Regions from separate parts of the Homo sapiens genome. Here all the other regions are linked to region 1. The links are contacts of gene promoters, found by promoter capture Hi-C in blood cells and fetal thymus (Javierre and others, 2016). All regions are on one chromosome and are shown on one strand. The core of a region is centred on a gene start or on the middle of the fragment in contact, and the rest is flanking DNA. Distances in the headings are between cores, read along the strand shown. Region 1 holds the start of OLIG3 (oligodendrocyte transcription factor 3). Region 2 has its middle 50 kb from the start of IFNGR1. Region 3 has its middle 35 kb from the start of LINC03004.

Region 1 (3,954 bases), core at 766-3,265:
GGAAGACTTAGTGTATGTCACTATCTTATTGGCGAGTCTGGTGAATTAAGAAACATTCTTTATGCTTGGTATTAGGAATGCTTTTGGACATTAGTCTTTCCACATCCAATCTAACCTCTTGAATTAAGAAACTTTCCTTCCACCGAGATGAAGGTGGTAGAAGAGGCTCCTGTCCAATCTGCAAGAGCACTAACTTCCTGGCCTTGACGAAGGGCTGTTGGCCATTTTTCCCCCATTACAGAAAAACAAAATTCGGTGTAGCAAAAGCATCCATGCCAATGTTGCGTTTGCCCATCCTTCTGGTATTGGCCAGAGCTGCCTTCGCAGCGTGACTGTCAGTGGGGCACAGCCTCAGAGCGTGCAAACTCCGGACCTGGGCGCGCATCCCTCTCCCACTGACCGCTCGGTTTGAGTCAAGGGAAAGGGGGGCATCCTGTTCTTCGAAGTGACTCAGCGGCGCAAGAGGCCCCAAGTGCCCGAGGTTCCGCGATTGATTCGATTTCACACTTCCACCGAGACTCTCAGTCACTAGCTAGCGTTTGTTTCCCGTTCCACCAAGCCGGGAGAGGGGCGGTGTCCGGGTTCTTCTAGAGACCACTCCTGGGGCTCTCTCCCTTCCCGGGATTTCTGCCTTCCCGCCCCTCGTGCTGCTGAGCTAAAGTCTTGATCACAAAAACACAGCAAGGGGGAAGAAAGATCTACGCCCACCTCCGCACTCGCACCGAAGGCTCCAAACTCCGACCTCCTCTTTATTCCCAGAAACGACTCTGCGCTGAACCGCAGTGCCCGGGCACGCACAAGGGGCTTTCTAGGTCCTTTCGTTGTTTCCCTTCCCCCGTGCTTCTTTGCCCACGCACCCCACCCCCCCGCCCCACCACCCCGACATCAGATAGTTTATTATGAGCTTCTGATTTCCCTGTCCGACGCCGTACGGCGGCCCCAGCCTGGTGGACCCACCCGCGCAGGCCGGGGTGCCGCTGAGTTCCCGGAGCTCGGGGCACGTCAGCACAGCGGCCAGAGGAGGCCCGGCGGAGCTTCGGGCGCGGACCGTCCCACCGTTTTGCGCCAGCGCCAAGGTCCAGGAAGCCTGGAGTGGGAACAATCTCTCTGGAGCTCTCAGGAACCTAACAATCTCTCTCTCTGCCTCCTTGGCTCCTTTTCCTTCCCATCCTCCCAAGTTGCTTTTCTTGTGACATTAACATTTTTTTTTCGCAGTTTTTGGTCTAGGAAGTTAAAGAATTGTGCAAAACTGAAATTCTTTTAGAAATCCATGTTTTAAAACGAAAGAGAGGACACAGAAAATAAGAGACCTCTCCGCCACAATACTGCCAGGAGCAAAGCCATCACCGAACATGGACATCCCGTTGAAACCACACCAGAAGGGCCCAATAAACAAAATTGACAGAATGGAAGTGTTTAGGAAAAGAGATCTAATGAAAAAAAAATATTGAGACAGAGAAAGTCGGCATGCAGTCTTCCCACCACCCCCAGCCCCCGCTGGCAGCACCTTCCCTCCGACCGCACCTCTGTCCCTCAAACCTTTCCACTGAGACCTATTTTTGCCCATATTTCTCTAAACTTGGGAGCAGCCAGGAAAGAAAGGAGAGCGAATGTTTCAATTCCTCTCTCCAAACTCAGAGGAACCTCCACCAACCGCCTGGCCACCTTCTCTTGCCTTCCTTCCGTTCCTGATGTGTGATTTGGTTAGAGAAATTGGGAAGGGGGGTGGGGTGGAAGAAAGTTAAAAAAAAAATCAGGAAGGCGTAAGCTGGAGCGGTGAGTGTGTCAATCAGAGGGTTTTGTGCCTGGGGGCTCCTAGCGGTTCGGAGCAGAGGTGTCCCAGGGCGGCCCCACAATGAATATGAATAGGAATCCTTGCTAAATGGGACAGCAAAGCGCACCGCCCTGAATGATGGCACGTCATCCTAACCAGCCCAGGATAGATAGGAGGGCTCCTTTTGTCTCTTTTCTCCGCCGCAGCTCTATAAAAGCCCCTCTTTTTCAGCGTGAGGTTAGTTCAAGCACACACCAACTAGCTGTCCAGGAAGCAGCCTAACCAGAGAGAGGGGCGTGGGAGGGAGAGAGGCGGGGAAAAGCAGCGTCTCCGCTTTTCTTCTCACGTCTTGCCGCGGAGAAGTGGGTTCCTGGGCAGTGCAGATTTTTTTTTTTTAATTCAAGATTTTCTTTAATTTCCCGCCTAAAGCCTCCCCACGGTAGGGCCGCATCCCCTGTAATAAAATGAATTCTGATTCGAGCTCTGTCTCCAGCAGAGCTTCATCTCCGGACATGGATGAGATGTACCTGAGGGACCACCACCACCGCCACCACCACCACCAGGAGAGCCGTCTCAACTCGGTCTCGTCCACGCAGGGCGATATGATGCAGAAGATGCCCGGGGAAAGCCTCTCGCGGGCTGGCGCCAAGGCCGCGGGAGAGAGCAGCAAGTACAAAATCAAGAAGCAGCTGTCGGAGCAGGACCTACAGCAGTTGAGGCTGAAGATCAACGGACGCGAACGCAAGCGGATGCACGACCTGAACCTAGCCATGGACGGGCTGCGCGAAGTCATGCCCTACGCGCATGGGCCGTCGGTGCGCAAGCTCTCCAAGATCGCCACACTCCTGCTCGCCAGAAACTACATCCTCATGCTCACCAGCTCCCTGGAGGAGATGAAGAGGCTGGTTGGCGAGATCTATGGGGGCCACCACTCGGCCTTTCACTGCGGGACCGTGGGCCACTCGGCCGGCCACCCCGCGCACGCGGCCAACTCCGTGCACCCGGTGCACCCCATCTTGGGCGGCGCGCTCTCATCTGGCAACGCCTCGTCACCGCTGTCCGCCGCCTCACTTCCCGCCATCGGCACCATCCGGCCTCCCCACTCGCTACTCAAGGCGCCCTCCACGCCGCCCGCGCTGCAGCTGGGCAGCGGCTTCCAGCACTGGGCTGGTCTGCCCTGCCCCTGCACCATCTGCCAGATGCCGCCGCCGCCGCACCTGTCCGCTCTCTCCACAGCCAACATGGCCCGGCTGTCGGCCGAGTCCAAGGACTTGCTCAAGTGAGCAGCGGGCGGGCCCGGCTGCCAAGGAGGAGGGAGAGCGGCGGGAGGGGCCGCGGTGCCGGGCCGGGAGGGAAGAGGGAGGCTGCACGCTCGGCCCACGGGAGGGCAGGCTCCGGGGCCCGCAGCCTCCCACGCTGTCTGAGAGATCTCAGACTCCACTTGACCCCCGGAGGGAAAGGACCAAAATCAAACCGCAATTTCTAGGTGGTAGCAAAGGGGGACTCGAACCAGATGTCGTGTGTTTTGCATGCATGCTTCTTTTCCCCATGCCGCGCCAGTATTTTTCACTGCCATATGCTCTTGTCAAAACTGCATTTGTTGTATAAAGATGGGATCGGTGTAGTTAAAAACTTGCGAAGGGACTTTTGAGTTGGCTTTCTCTGACTCTGTGTTCTCGCTTTGGAAAAAGACGGCCATCCCTTTTGTGCAAAACAAATGTAAATATTTTCTTGAGATGGATGCGATTATGATTGTCTCTGTCCTTGCCACAGTTTTTCTAGAGACAATGGAGAGAGAAAGAGAGAGAGAGCGCGAGAGAGATCAAGACCCAAGTTTTGAATCTCAACCGAGGTCCAGGGCATGACACCTCCTATGTGGGTTTTCCTTTCGACGCAGTGTAGGTCAAAAGAATGCATGCACGCTTCTAAATGAATCTTGTCTGAATATGTCGTGCAGGCTGTGGTGCCGTTTTCCTTGTAACAAGGATTTATTAGTGAATTATCCCAAGTACTCCATATATCTGTCTGTGGTTGTATGAAATGAAAAAAGGGGCAGAGTGCAAAGACCCACACTCACGCACACGCGCTTCTTCTCCCACCCCCACCCCCTTCAAACTTTATTCGGAACCTTCCTTTGCTGTTCTGGGGCCGCTATTGTAAAAGCCTGGGCTCCCTCTAGT
Region 2 (3,954 bases), core at 1,024-3,523, 230 kb after region 1:
TTTCAAAAAATAAAATTAATCTAAAAAGAAAACAATCAATTCCCAACATAAAAATAAACTGAAATTAACACATTAATGGAATATCATGAAGGTGGTAACATGACCTTACAGAAGAAAGAATTATATCTGGTTACCTTTATGTTAGCTATAAAGTCTTAGTAGGATTAATGACAAAAAGAACTGTAACATTGTTTTAACTTCACTGAGTAATTTTCATTTGGATTTTATATTTTTTAACTAGTTTATACACATTATAGGACAAAGCAAATAGGTAACTATATTAATGTTGGTAGGAATCAAGATTTTCCGTGTAAGAGAAAAGGAAGACAAGAAAAAAAATTAAAGAACTTAAGTAGAAACCTTATATTGTTAATCTGAATTAAAAATATTACTATGTCCAACCCCACTAGAAACAAGAAAGAAATTACTATAAACTCTGAAAACACTTTTTTATTTAAAAAAACATGTATTTCTTAGCTCTGTTGACTGAAATGTTTAGAAGCACTGACAGCCCAATAGCAATGAGCACCCATATCACCTAGATTATGTCTCTAAACTCACTTCTCATTGAAAAGAATTAGGGCTCCCCAGAGAAATAGCTGATTTTAAGTCTAGGGCAAAGCTGATTTTAAGCCTGGGACAGCTTGCAATTGGGCCACTGGAGATTTCAGCACCCCAGCATTTTTTAGTATCTGAAATAATGAGAATTCTGATTAGGCCCTTGCTTGCTTGCAAATGTTAACCACTTGCTTTTTGCCCAAAATTCCTTGTTCCCACAATGTAATTATAAACTATAGATGTACCGTTCCTGTGCCAAGCAGCAGGAGATAACTCCAGTGTCACAAAAAAAGTTTGCAGAAAGAATGAATGCCTAGAGGGATGTCGTGACCAGCTGCTGATGCCAAGAAGTCTGGTTGCTCAAGGTGTTATCTCAGACTGAAGAAACAGACTTTTTTCCCCTAGATTTCCTGTAACTCCCCATCCTTTACTCTCCAGCCAAATAAAAACTCCCCGCCTCTTCTTTTTGTTAAGGTAGATTGGAGAGATTTTTGCCCTCCCACCTCATTTTGGGCAAATCAGATAAACCCTTCTCTATCTCCAAGCACCTTTGTGTCAGGGTTTGGCCTCAGCTGCATGCTGGGTACACGAGCCTGAATTTGGGGTTCTATGACATGCTTATGCCAGAAAGCAAGGAAAATACCAGCAGAACACACAGATCCACTTGAAGGTTTTCCGTTGTCAAATGTGACATCTGAGGATGTGAAAACAGTAATGACTACAACTGGTTGAAAAACATTGAATAAAGGCATATTTTATTTTATTGCACTTCACTTTATGATGCTATGCAGATGCGGATGTTTTTTACAAATTGAGGTTTTGTGGCAGCTGTGTGTTAAGCAAGTCTATAGGTGCCAACTTTCCACAACAGGTGCTCATCTCATGTCTCTGTGTCACATTTTGGCAATTATCACAATATTTCAAACTTTTTCATATTTTATCTATTATGGTGATCTGTGATCAGTGATCTTTGATGCTATTATTGTAGTTTTTGGGGGGTGCCATGAACCACGTTCATATAAGATGATGAACTTAATCAATAAATGTATGTTTTACCATGACTGCTCTACCAACCAGCCATTCCTCATCTCTCTCCTGCTTCTCAGGTCTCCCTATTCCCTGAGATACAATAATATTGAAATCAGGTCAGTTAGTAACTCCACAATGGTCTCTATGTGTTCAAGTGAAAATAAAAGTCACACATCTCTCACTTTAAATCCAATTCTAGAAATGATTACATTTAGCATGGAAGGCGTGTTGACAACCAAGGTAGCAGAGTAGCACTTTTACTTTCCAAGAACTTTTCTTTTGCACCAAACTTGACCTTTGCAGCAAACAGCCAACTTGTGAATGCAAAGGAAAAGTTCTTGAAGGAAAGTAAGTGCTACTCGGGTGGACACACAAACGCTAAGTAAAACAGCCCTATTGCTGGTATGGAAAAAGTTTGAGTGGACTCAATAGAAGATCAAGCCAGGCGCAACATTCCCTTAAGCAAAAGCCTAATCCAGAGCAACACCCTAACTTTCTTCAATTCTACGAAGGCTGAGAGAGATGAGTAAGCTGCAGAAGAAAAGTTGGAGCTAACAGAGGTCGGCTCATGAAGCTTAAGGAAGGAAGCCATCTCCATAACATAAAAGTACGAGGTGAGGCAGCAAGTGCTGATGGAGAAGCTGCAGCGTTATCCAGAAAAGCCAGCTAAGATCACTGATGAAGAGGGCAAAAGAAACATATTGTCTGTGGACAAAAAGCAGTCTTATATTAGAAGAAGATGCTCTTCAGAACTTTCATAGCTGGAGAAGAAAAGTCAGTGCCTGGCTTCAAAGCTTCAAGCAATAGCTGACTCTTTTGATTGGGGCTATTGCAGCTAGTGACCTAACATTGTAGCGAATGCTCATTTGCCATTTTGAAAACTCTAGGAAGAATTATGCTAAATCTGCTCTGCCTGCACTCTTTAAGTGGAACAACAAAACCTGGATGACAGCACATCTGTGTATAGCATGAATTGCTGAATATTTTAAGTCCGCTATTGAGACTTAATGCTCAGAAAAAAAAAGATTTCTTTCCAAATATTATCACTCACTGACAGTGCATCTAGTCACTCAAGAGCTCTGACAGAGATGTACAATGAGATGAATGTTATTCAACACAACATCCATTCTGTAGCCAATGAATCAAGGAGTAATTTCAACTTTCAAATCTTATTACTTAAGAAATACATTTCGGCCAGGTGTGGTGGCTCATGCCTGTAATCCCATCACTTTGGGAGGCTGAGGCGGGTGGATCACGAGGTCAAGAGATCGAGACCATCTGGCCAACATGGTGAAACCGCGTCTCTACTAAAAATACAAAGAAGAAGAGCTGGTTGAATGATGCTGTCACCATGAGGAAGTAATCAGGCAAACCTAGAATGTGGAACAATGTATATTCTATGCACATTGTTCTATGGGACAATTACACCAGGTTTTTTCAGTTAAGTCAATGGGAAGGGAAAAGAAGAGGGGAGAGGGGCTTGCTACAGATGTACAAGGGGGCATGACAACTGAATGTAACATGTGAGTCTCGCTTGGATCTTGATTTGGAAAAAAAAATCATCTTAAAAAGACATTTATTGGCCAGGCACAGTAGCTCACATCTGTAATCCCAGCACTTTGGGAGGCTGAGGCGGGCGGATCACCTGAGGTCAGGAGTTCGAGACCAGCCAGACCAATATGATGAAACCCTGTCTCTACTAAAAATACAAAAATTAGCCAGGCGTGGTGGCAGGCGCCTGTAATCTCAGCTACTCGGGAGGCTGAGACAGGAGAATCACTTGAACCTGGGAGGCAGAGGTTGCAGCAAGCCAAGATCACGCCATTACACTCCAGCCTGGGCAACAAGAGCAAAACTCCGTCCAAAAAAAAAAAAAAAAAAACAAGTTTATTAAACAGTCAATGAACTTTGAATATGGATGGACTGGGAATTAGATATTAATTAATTATTGTTATGAATTTAGGTGTGATAGTGGTAACTGGTTATATTTCCCTCTTTTAGGGACACATTGAAATACTAGGTGGTAAGTGCCATTTTGCCTGGAATTTGCTTTAAAATTCTTCAACAAAAAAGGGGTGCAAACAGGTGATTCAAGTGGGCAAAATGTTGATTATTTTAAAATCTGGATGGCTGCTGCTATGGATTGAATATGACTTGTATGTTCCCCACCAAATATTATGTTGAAATTTGATCCCCAGTGTGGTGATGTTGGGATGTGGGGTGCAGTGGGAGGAGTTCAGGTCATGGGTTATGAATGGTTTGGTGCTGTTCTCAGGGTAGTGAGTAAGTTCTCATGCTGTCCCGAGATGGATTGGTTTTGAGGGGATGGATTAGTTCCCAAGGGAGTGTGTTGCTCTAAAGCCAAGA
Region 3 (3,954 bases), core at 473-2,972, 140 kb before region 1:
TGCATGTGAGGGATCTAGGTTGCCAACTCTTTATAAGAATCTAGTGCCTGATGATCTGAGGTGGAACAGTTTCATCCTGAAACCATCCCCCGCCACCCTCCATCCATGGAAATTTGTCTTCCATGAAACCAGCCCAGTTGGTTTCTATTACAGAGTTTAAGAGTAATCTAGGCAAGGGCCAAAGTTAGCACATTTCAGAAATGGTATTAAGACCTGCACTGTATCTGGGTGAGGAAACAATACTTATGTTTTATTTTCAGAGTCCCCTCTGATTCAGAGCAGACTAGGGGAGGAGTGGGAGCAGAGCTGAAAGTGAACTTGCAGTAGACCACCATACACTTCAAGGAGAATTGACTTTTTCCCTAACAGAAAAAGGGAAAGTTTCATGCTTTAAACTGTAGAGTACATGCCTGTGTGTCTTTTATTTTTCACTTATGTTTAATTAGATCTGAGAACAGGCTTACTGCTAAAGCTTAAATAATTAACTAGCATTTATTTGTAAAAGATAGATGGCCATAACATCATCTAGCAAAGTGGAGAAAATATAACTGGATTCTGTCTCTATCAAGAACATCCAGAAAGAGAGAGAGGTAACCTGGAAACTCTGTCAGAGGATAGTTCTTAGTCAAGGTAATCGCACAATACAACCTCTGCTTTACCATATAAGGAAATTAAACTTCTGGCTCCAGTTGCTGCCAGAAGTACTGACTATGGTAACTCCTGCTGTACAGCTCTGGCTCATCAGACCCTGCAACTCCAGCTTCCTTCCAGCCCTAAGGTGGTAGCAGCTTGCTGCTATTGTATTGCTAAGCACTGGGTTGTTTCTCGCTGCTCCTTATTTGGCTTCTCAGCTTTCCCATTATTGGTGAAACCAATTCCCTGTAACAAACTTTCTCATTGTGAAATATCTATGATGGTTTCTGGTTTTGTTTTTGTTTTCTTCCCAGTGGGTATCTGAATGCTATAGAGAGAATAAGAGAACTCTATACACACTTTAGAAATGAGAAAGAGAAAGTCCTATTTCTATCTTCCTATTTTAACATTGTTTAGGCTATTATTTCGTTATTTTGTGTCTTTCTTAATAGGTAGCTTTATGAAGCAAGCAATACATCAGCAAACAGATCTTGAGCACTTCCTTTCTATAGTGTACTTTAGTCATCTCTAAAAAATAATCTGATAGAACTGTTGCTTTCAGCTCACTATCACAGCAAACAATTGCAGCTCACCCTGATAAAGATAGCTGCAAATGGAATTTCCTGGACTCCACCTGTCTTCTGAGGCTTTCAGCTGTCTATGCCATATCCTCTCACATCCAGACACAAGAGTAGAGGCTGGAGCATTGTCACAGCACCTTAGGACCTTCCACGTCCTGCCTAAGTATTTCACTGACCACTGTGAGCCCAGGAATTGCCAAGGGAGCAAGTCCAACCACAGCTGCAGCAGAGTGCACTGACAGGGCAGGCCCATAATGGGCACTTGCCCATCTGTTGTGCAGTTAGTTTTTGGCCTTTTTAATAGAGTAGTGTTAGAAACATTGTAACAACTGAACATCCACACCTAAGGGGTCAGAGATGGCCTCATTAATAGGGGACCCTAAGGCAGCCCTTACTTGAAACTCTCCAAGAGAGATATACGTGTATTTTCTGTCCTTCAGAAAATGCAATTTTTTTCTGGACACATTTCTAATGATTTCACTTAATAACCACGTTTTATGTAGCTTTGAATTACTAGAGCTATCTAGTTATTATGAACCACAGGATACGATGTCAGAATCTCAAAGCACAAGAGAAATAGGACTAACTAACTTATACAAAGTAATTTGGAATTTGCAAAGTACTTTCACACTCATTAGCTCAATTTTTTTTTTTGAGATGTAGCCTTGCTCTGTTGCCCAGGCTGGTGTGCAGTGGTGCGGTCTCAGCTCACTGCAGCCTCTGCCTCCCGGGTTCAAGTGATTCTCCTGCCTAGCCTCCCGAGTAGCTGGGACTACAGGTGTGCACTGCCGTGCCTGGATACATTTGCTTTTGTAATTTTGGTAGAGACAGGGTTTCACCATGTTGGCCAGGCTGGTCTCAAACTCCTGACCCCAAGTGATCTGCCCGCCTCAGCCTCCCAAAGTGCTAGGCATAAGGTACCGCACCTGGCCCATTAGCTCAATCTCGCTGATGGTTTTGGACATTGTTCTGGCAAAAAAAGATGAGGCCTAGAAGTGCTACCTCAAACAAATGATTTCAGAATTAAAATGAGGCAATATTTTAAGTACTTTCTACTCCTGCATGGGCAAAGTCATTTTTTTTGATACAAATATTTTCTGTCTTTTGGAGAACCCTCTATAGCAGTGGCTCCCAACCTTTTTGGCACCAGGGAGTAGTATCGTGGAAGACAATTTTTCCGTGGAAGTGGGTTTGGGGAGGGGATGGTTTTGGGGTGAAACTGTTCCCACCTCAGATCGCCAGGCACTAGATTCTTATAAGTAGCCGGCAACCTAGATCCGCCGTTCACAATAGGGTTCATGCTCCTATGAGAATCCAATGGCCCCACTGATCTGACTGGAGGCGTGGAGCACAGGCGGTAATGCTCACCCACCCACGGCTCACCTCTTGCTGTGAGGCCTGTTCCTGACAGGCCACAGACCAGTATGGATCCATGGTCCCGGGGGTTGAGGACCCTTGCTCTGTAGCATACATTTGAGATCTCGTCTTATTCTAATTGTTGCAAGCAATACAACATCAGAATTTCTGGTTATGGAGTCTTGGGCCTCTTTTTACTGATTTGGAAGGAAATTTTCAAAATTTGCCTAGTTAAGCAGTTGACTCCTTTTGCTTTAGTGAGCTCAGTCTTATTATATCCAGTGTTCTTGCTATATCTCTTGATAATGAGGCTTTATACATATATATATATACACACACACACACAATCATACATACGTGTATAATGATACCTGTATATATGTATAATAATAATGAAGCTTTGTATATAAAGCCTTATCATATAAAGCCTGTGTGTGTGTATATATGTGTGTGTATATATATATATACACACATACACATACATATATATATATACACATACACATACATATATATATACACACATACTGACAGGCCACAGACCATATATATATATGTGTGTGTGTGTGTATATATGTGTGTGTGTATATATATATATATACACATACACATACATATATATATACACATACACATACATATATATACACACACATACTGACAGGCCACAGACCATATATGTATATGTGTGTGTATATAATGTGTACACACACACGTACACATTACTATATATATATAGTGACAGTGTAATTTATTTATAGAGACATTTAAACTCCATGACATGGACAAGCCCAAAGCTATGGTTCTCTCTACAATGAGCCTATTTACATTTTCCTTATACAAGAGAAACTTTCTAAAGATCTTCTTTACTTTTTTTTTTTTTTGAGGCGGAGTCTCACTCTATTGCCCAGGCTGGAGTACAGTGGCGCAGTCTTGGCTCACTGCAAGCTCCGCCTCCCGGGTTCACACCATTCTCCTGCCTCAGCCTCCCAAGTAGCTGGGACTACAGGTGCCCGCCACCACGCCCGGTTAATTTTTTTTGTATTTTTAGTAGAGACGGGGTTTCACCGTATTAGCCAGGATGGTCTCGATCTCCTGACCTCATGATCCGCGCGCCTCGGCCTCCCAAAGTGCTGGGATTACAGGCATGAGCCACCGCGCCTGGCTGACCTTCTTTACTCTTAATCCTAGGACCATACCTAGTGTAAAATTTTTTTAATTAGAGAAAATCCTGAAATTTTCAAAAATGTAAAAACAAATCTAAAGCTTTAGGTCTGCCTAATCCAAAATGAATTCCACTTTAACATGTGCCATTTCATGGAAAAATAACTGGGTCCTTTTTATTTTAGACATAAGCAAGTATCTTTCTAGAGTTAGGAACTCA

Evidence for each region. The method cuts DNA at HindIII sites, captures the fragments that hold promoters and counts their contacts. A CHiCAGO score of 5 or more calls a contact.
Region 2: a contact is called between a fragment that was not itself captured here and the fragment with the promoter of OLIG3 in region 1, in 1 of 17 cell types (naive B cells). The highest score is 5.1, in naive B cells.
Region 3: a contact is called between a fragment that was not itself captured here and the fragment with the promoter of OLIG3 in region 1, in 1 of 17 cell types (non-activated CD4 T cells). The highest score is 5.9, in non-activated CD4 T cells.

Annotation. Positions count from the first base shown.
Region 1 is chr6:137,492,455-137,496,408 of GRCh38, reverse strand. OLIG3 (oligodendrocyte transcription factor 3) reads left to right here and starts at 2,015. Exons shown (of 1, transcript NM_175747.2): 1 at 2,015-3,954. The coding sequence starts at 2,239. The coding sequence ends at 3,057. RefSeq lists enhancers at 1-390, 391-924, 2,606-3,105. The HindIII fragment of the contact is 6,431 bases long and covers 1-3,954 here.
Region 2 is chr6:137,266,915-137,270,868 of GRCh38, reverse strand. No RefSeq gene overlaps it. Among named protein-coding and RNA genes, the nearest start is that of IFNGR1, 50 kb to the right of the region's middle. The HindIII fragment of the contact is 220 bases long and covers 2,164-2,383 here.
Region 3 is chr6:137,628,279-137,632,232 of GRCh38, reverse strand. No RefSeq gene overlaps it. Among named protein-coding and RNA genes, the nearest start is that of LINC03004, 35 kb to the left of the region's middle. The HindIII fragment of the contact is 2,496 bases long and covers 475-2,970 here.